Linked DNA regions of Homo sapiens: region 2 is linked to region 1. Evidence: promoter capture Hi-C in 16 types of primary human blood cells and fetal thymus (Javierre and others, 2016). All regions are on one chromosome and are shown on one strand. Each heading gives the region's core, a stretch centred on a gene start or on the middle of the fragment in contact. The rest is flanking DNA. Distances are from core to core; before and after follow the strand shown. Region 1 holds the start of GCFC2 (GC-rich sequence DNA-binding factor 2). Region 2 overlaps LINC01291 (long intergenic non-protein coding RNA 1291).

The links. The method cuts DNA at HindIII sites, captures the fragments that hold promoters and counts their contacts. A CHiCAGO score of 5 or more calls a contact.
Region 2: a fragment that was not itself captured here is called in contact with the fragment with the promoter of GCFC2 in region 1 in 1 of 17 cell types (naive CD8 T cells); the score reaches 5.3 in naive CD8 T cells.

What each region holds. Positions count from the first base shown.
Region 1 is chr2:75,709,437-75,712,745 of GRCh38, reverse strand. GCFC2 (GC-rich sequence DNA-binding factor 2) reads left to right here and starts at 1,831. Exons shown (of 17, transcript NM_003203.5): 1 at 1,831-2,155. The coding sequence starts at 1,891. It overlaps LOC105374813 (a long non-coding RNA gene), which reads right to left and starts at 1,807. Exons shown (of 3, transcript XR_940260.2): 1 at 1,712-1,807. RefSeq lists an enhancer at 450-1,021 and a silencer at 2,000-2,299. The HindIII fragment of the contact is 8,873 bases long and covers 149-3,309 here.
Region 2 is chr2:74,941,367-74,944,620 of GRCh38, reverse strand. LINC01291 (long intergenic non-protein coding RNA 1291) reads right to left here. Exons shown (of 5, transcript NR_189601.1): 5 at 1,127-3,254. All of the region lies in intron 1 of LOC105374809 (a long non-coding RNA gene), which reads left to right. Among named protein-coding and RNA genes, the nearest start is that of POLE4, 16 kb to the left of the region's middle. The HindIII fragment of the contact is 384 bases long and covers 1,082-1,465 here.

The sequences.
Region 1 (3,309 bases), core at 582-3,081:
TTTCTTCCTTCTGGTGGGTTTGTGGTCTCGCTGGGCTCAGGAATGAAGCTGCAGATCTTCACGGTGAGTGTTACAGCTCATAAAAGCCACGTGGACCCAAAGAGTCAGCAGTAGCAAGATTTATTGCAAAGAGCGAAAGAACAAAGCTTCCACACTGTGGAAGGGGACCGGAGCGGGTTGCCACTGCTGGCTGGGGCAGCCTGCTTTTATTCTCTTATCTGGCCCCACCCACATCCTGCTGATTGGTAGAGCCCAGCGGCCTGTTTTGACAGGGCCGTGATTGGTGCGTTTACAATCCCTGAGCTAGATACAAAAGTTCTCCACATCCCCATCAGATTAGTTAGATACAGAGTTTCCACACACAGGTTCTCCAAGGCCTCACCAGAGCAGCTAGATAGAATGTCTATTGGTGCACTCACAAACCTTGAGCTAAACACAGGGTGCTGATTGGTGGGTTTACAAACCTTGAGCTAGATACAGAGTGCCGATTGGTGTTTTTACAATCCCTGAGCTAGACATAAAGGTTCTCCAAGGCCCCACCAGAGCAGCTAGATACAGAGTGTCGATTGGTGCACTCATAAACCTTGAGCTAAACACAGGGTGCTGATTGGTGTGTTTACAAACCTTGAGCCAGATACAGAGTGCTGATTGGTGTATTTACAATCCCTGAGCTAGACATAAAGACTCTCTATGTCCCCACCAGACTCAGGAGCCCAACTGGCTTCACCTAGTGGATCCCGCACCGGGGCTGCAGGTGGAGCTGCCTGCCAGTCCGGCGCCGTGCGCTCGTACTCCTCAGCCCTTGGGTGGTCGATGGGACTGGGCGCCGTGGAGCAGGGGGTGGTGCTCGTCGGGGATGCTCGGGCAGCACAGGAGCCCATGGAGTGGATGGGAGGCTCAGGCATGGCGGGCTGCAGGTCCCGAGCCCTGCACCGCGGGAAGGCAGCTAAGGCCCGGCGAGAAATCGAGCACAGCGCCGGTGGGCCGGCACTGCTAGGGGACCCAGTACACCCTCTGTAGCCGCTGGCCCGGGTGCCAAGTCCCTCACTGCCCGGGGCTGGCAGGGCCGGCCGGCTGCTCCGAGTGCAGGCCCGCCAAGCCCATGCCCACCCGGAACTCCAGCTGGCCCGCTGTCACCTCTCAATATGACGCCACTAAACATGGAGTTGATAACAGGTGTGCAGTAGCTCAACATTATATAGTATTTCTACCATACAGATACAGTAGTAGACAGAGCTTGATGAATATAGAACAAATTTGCGTCAGACAATAGCTTTTTGTTTTTAGATAGTTTCTTTAAGGGTGAAAACATTTAACCAGGCTCTCTTGAAGCCCTGCTGCCTGGGGGAAGTCATTTGATTTTTGCTAGTCTGTATGCATTGTTTATGTACAGACTTTATGGTTTTGTTCTCAAAGGCATCTCCTCCTACCCCGAGCCTCACACTGCTGGGGTTTCGTTTGTTTTAAATCTTGGTTGGAGGGGGCACTCTCTCCAGAAAGTAAAAGACAACGGATCTGGCTCCAGTCCAGGACGGAAAGCATAACGCTTGATTTCTGGATGGGGTTTGCACAAGGACAGCACGTGAGTTCTGCTCTCCGTGGGACTCAGACCGGATAGGCCGTGAAAATCTCTAAGGTGTCAGTCCACGCAACCTAACCTGGCAAAGGGAATGCTTTGCAAACTCAGGCCCCAGAACAGAACTCGGCCTACCAGATCCAGGGAGCCAAAGCACGCAGGCGCAGACAGAGTAGCGGTGAGCAGAAGGCAGGCGGGACGGGCGCGCGCACTCGGCGGCCAGGCGCGGCGGGAGCGCGCCCTAGGGGGCGGGCACTGAAGCTGCGGCTTGCGGTTCAGCGGGTTCTAGGGCGCCGGGCGCTCGGGCCTCGGCCATGGCTCACAGGCCGAAAAGGACTTTTCGGCAGCGCGCGGCTGATTCCAGCGACAGCGATGGCGCCGAGGAGTCGCCTGCTGAGCCTGGGGCGCCGAGGGAACTTCCGGTCCCGGGTTCTGCGGAGGAAGAGCCGCCCTCTGGAGGAGGCCGCGCGCAGGTGGCGGGACTGCCCCACCGGGTTCGGGGCCCTCGTGGCCGGGGCCGGGTCTGGGCGAGCTCCCGGCGTGCCACCAAAGCGGCTCCCCGCGCGGACGAAGGCTCAGGTGTCCAGGGAGACGCGGGGAAGCGGGGAGGTGACGGCACAGGGCGGGAAGGGGCCGCGGGGTCTCTGGATCCTTCTCTGGGGGTTCTATAACTTGCTGCCGACCACAAGCCATGCTGAGTCTTATCCAGAAAGACTTATCCAGAAGGTAGTGAGCGAGAAAATAGCTCGAGCACTTGCCCGCTATCTGCATCTGCCTTTTGGACTCCTTGGGGGAAATAAAACAATCGTGTACAGTTGGGAGGCTCTTCGTTTTCACCATCAGTTGACTCCATCAGTTATAACTAACACAGTTATCAAAGTTTATGAAGAACCTAAACTGTCACAACAAAGTTCAATAATTTATAATACTATTAAGTGGGCAGAAGTTATATGTACCTTTTAGACACTTGACCAACTTATCTTTCTTGAAAACATTTAGCCAGAGTAGTACAGGAATCTAGGTTTTGGGACATTCCCCTTTGTTTATTTTCTTTTTTCACCAGTTATTTGCAAAAACTAATAGTAATATATACAACACAAAGAAGCATGATAGAGATTCATGACACTGTAGATGGTACCAGTAATGGTGTTAGATATAGTGTCGTCATTTTGAAGTACCTTTGAGTTCTTAAATACAGGTGTAAGGCAGCATAAAGTTGTTTAAATAAAATGTGCTGCTCTGAGTTGGAATTGTAGCTTAATGAGGAATACGGTTTTTGGTTAGTCTTGAGAGCTAAAATCTTCCTATTATTTTTTATTGTCATTAAAGTGATTTTTATTAATTTATTGAGAAGTAAAAAATGTATATACTTATAGTGTACAACATGATGTTTGAAATGTGTCTACAGTGACTAAATGGAGCTAATTAACATTTGCTTTACCTTAGGTACTTACTTTTTTTTGTGGTGAGAACACTTACTATCTACTCTTACTAATTTTCAAGTATGCAATGCATTGTTATTAATTTTAGTCACCGTGTTGTAGAATAGAATTCCTCTTGTCTAATTAAAATGTGTGCCCTTTGACCAGTATCTTCCCAACTACCCTCAACCTCACTCAGTCCCTTCTAACCACTACTCGACTCTCTGCTTCTGTGATTTCTGATTTCCACTTTTTTAGATTACATATGTGAGATCATGTGGTGTTTGTCTCTCTGTGCCTGTCTTATTTCAT
Region 2 (3,254 bases), core at 24-2,523, 770 kb after region 1:
GTTTCTGTATATCAGAGAACTCCCACCCTGTAGCTGACCAGTACACGGAGGAACTACAAGCAGCTAAAAGCATCAGTTGATCACCCTCTGGCATTCCAAGACTTACACTGATCACCGCTAAGCACTGGGGAGAGCAGATGCTGTTTTTCTATGTAAATGTAGTATCCATTCATAAAATTGGAAAGTGGCTATCTGAGGCCCCATGAAGTCACAAATGCCATTAATCCCTGGCATTCTCACTCTAATGACATCTATCTATCTGGATTCACTTTGCCTTTCACCCTTCCTAGATTAACCCTGACCAAGACCTGGCTGTCCATGCCATACATGTGTTTACAGCAATCAAGAAAGAACTGAAATAAACAGTGAGAGAGGTAGTAGAAAGAGTGCTGGCCTCCCGCTAGCACGATGGTCACTCCAACATTTGGTTGCAATGGAAAGTAACAGTCCTGAAAAGCAGTCATGGAATCTTGTTTTCTACCTCAAGAAAATCCTAGAGTACATCTGAACTTACACCTGAGACAACCAGGAAAGCCCCCAGAACAAACACTTTTAGGGAAAGAAGTCTGGTGCATGGGTGATGCCATTCATCCAGACAGCCCATCCACCAGCCACACACAATTGTAGGCAAATTTATTGAGAACTTCACCATGAATACACAAGCTCACACACACACACACACACACAGGTTTGTTCCAGTCACACACACATTTCACCTCAGTTCTATGAACCTAAATTTCCAGTTTTCTGCGCCTACCCCAATATCTACTTTTACTCTATTAAGTTTTGTCAACACTTACAAGTCTCTCCTGGTTTTCTTAGAACTCAGATATCCTAATATTAGATTTTCAAAATAAAACAAAATTCACCAAGATTGTGACTAAGTAGTAGTTATCCACATTCAGAGGATGAACTGGTCCACAAATATCTAACTCATCCCCGATTTCTTTCCTTGTCTTTCATTAATTGCTTCCATTACCCCAACCCCAGCCTGAAGAGGTGTTATGGCCCAGTTAGCCTGAGACTGAAAGAGTAGACATAAAAGCCTCCCATTAATTCTCTGTCATAGATTTTTTAAGCTTGAATAATGTTTAAAAGATAAAAAAAAACTCCCATAAAATCCTACTGTTGCTCTACATTATTTTTATTGTGTTACTTCAAAATGAACAGATATAAATTTCCCATACATATAGCTCTTAAATTACTTCAAAACTCAAGCAAAGCTGCAAATTAAAAACAAGCAAACATACAAAAGCCACTAGAGTTCATATAGAAAACATCAGTGTGATAAATGATATTTTGCTGGAACTAAATTGCTGGCGTTGGGTTTAATACACCTACTATTTGTATGTTTTATGCTTCACTTTCTGTCCTCTTGATTCTTTTGACTTTGAACAATACTGGAAGCATATCTTAAGTCTTTCTTCAAGTTATCGTAGGATTAATCGTTTTTGGTAAATAAGCTTGTTTAACTACTAATCCATTAGTTTGAGGGGCTGATAAATTTAATAGTGCACCACAATAAGTACATAATAATAAAAATACTGAAGATTAACATTAAAAATACTATTGAATAAAAATAACAGTATTCTTTCCTGCTATTGAATGACAGTTCAAGTTGGTATGTCTCACAATAACTTCTCAACATGATATGCCACTGCTATGACAGAAGACATTTTGAACTAATGATGTCTGTACTACCTTTGGGCCACAAAATTGATCAATTTTCCCACATCTTTCTCTATTCAAACTTAATGCAAAATCGACATTTCCATAGCATGCCGTGATGTTATTTGTTCTTCATTTGGCACCAAACTCAGCCTTCAGCACTAAAAATAATGTAGTAGAACATTTTGATTTTATTTCTTTAAGATTATCTTCAAAACGAAAGCAGAAAATTTGAAAATTCTCATGAAACACTCACTCTCTCAAGAACATCTACAGACCTACTTTGAGAAACAGAGCTTTAATAGCACAACTGAGTTACAGAGGAAATATTTAAATAGTGTTTTACTAATGCCTTAGGAGATATTCAGCGGTGAGAGAACTCTATCCGTCCATCGTTATCTTGAAGCCCCCAGCGGGGCTGTCTTTCAGCCTCACCTCAAGTCAGACCTCTTAAGCAGGTCAAGACCCACAACAGACAGCACTCCCTCTGCTGCTAGCCTGAGGACTGTTTTCCATCCCTTTCCCATGAAGGGACTCATTACATACGGTCTCTGTGCTGGCTTCCTCCTGTGGTTCACTCTTGTCTCATTACCTGGGGTAAGAACCCTCTTGCCAGCTTTAATTATGAACAAGTTTATAGTCTTACTAGACCATTAGCTCAAGGATCACAAATATGATTGCCTCCACTAATCGACAGATACAATGGTTCCAGTCCACTAGACCTTCCTCCCATAGCCCTGGGGATACCCTTGTTTTCTACCCACCTCAGACCCCTCCCTTCACCCCCGTGCCCCACCACCTGCCCAGGCCAACCAAAACAAAGATGCTGCAGGAAGTACTGGTAGTTCAGATATCTCCTTGGTCGATGTAGACATTATTTTCCTAGGCCTGAGGATCTACTCAATAACAAAGTCAAGGGGTTTTTGTGGAAGAAAATTCAACTTTGAGAAAAATGAGTGAATTAGTTGGGTTGCTGAAAAGTCCTCTTCAGGGAAAAGGTTTCCTCTTTATTTGGTCAAGGGCCCTCTTCACAATCTTCCCATTTGTGGCTCCACTTTGCTGTCCCCTTATATAGTTGTGGTCAAAGCCAGATAAAACATTATGTAGAAATAAATGAAGTTAGTAAAAGGAGCTTACTGCAAATATACTATTATCACAACAATAAGATAAAATAGCAGAAAAGAGAATAAGAAGCATGAACACCAAGAATAAATAATATAAAATACGAAAGATTAAAAACCAGAAGTTTAAAAGACAAAATAGGCAAAGAATAATACTAACTAAATGAATTTACTAGAAAGACAAAAAAAGAGTCATGCACTAAATGGAAGGAAAAATTAAATGTCAAAAATAGTGTGCAAAGGTTAACATCCTCCAACAGGGCAAACTGGGTGAGTCCTTTGAGCCGTGTGTGCTGCAAACTTCCCACTTGACTGACTTGCCAGCGTCAATCATCATCGCTGAAGGCAGCCCTGAGGGGAGGGTCTGTTCTTAGGGGAGGTCTCCTCAAGTCAGCAAACTTCAGCACAGAGGAGGTCAGGTCAATGAAGATCTCACCATTCAGCTCAAGCCTCCAGGCACTTTGA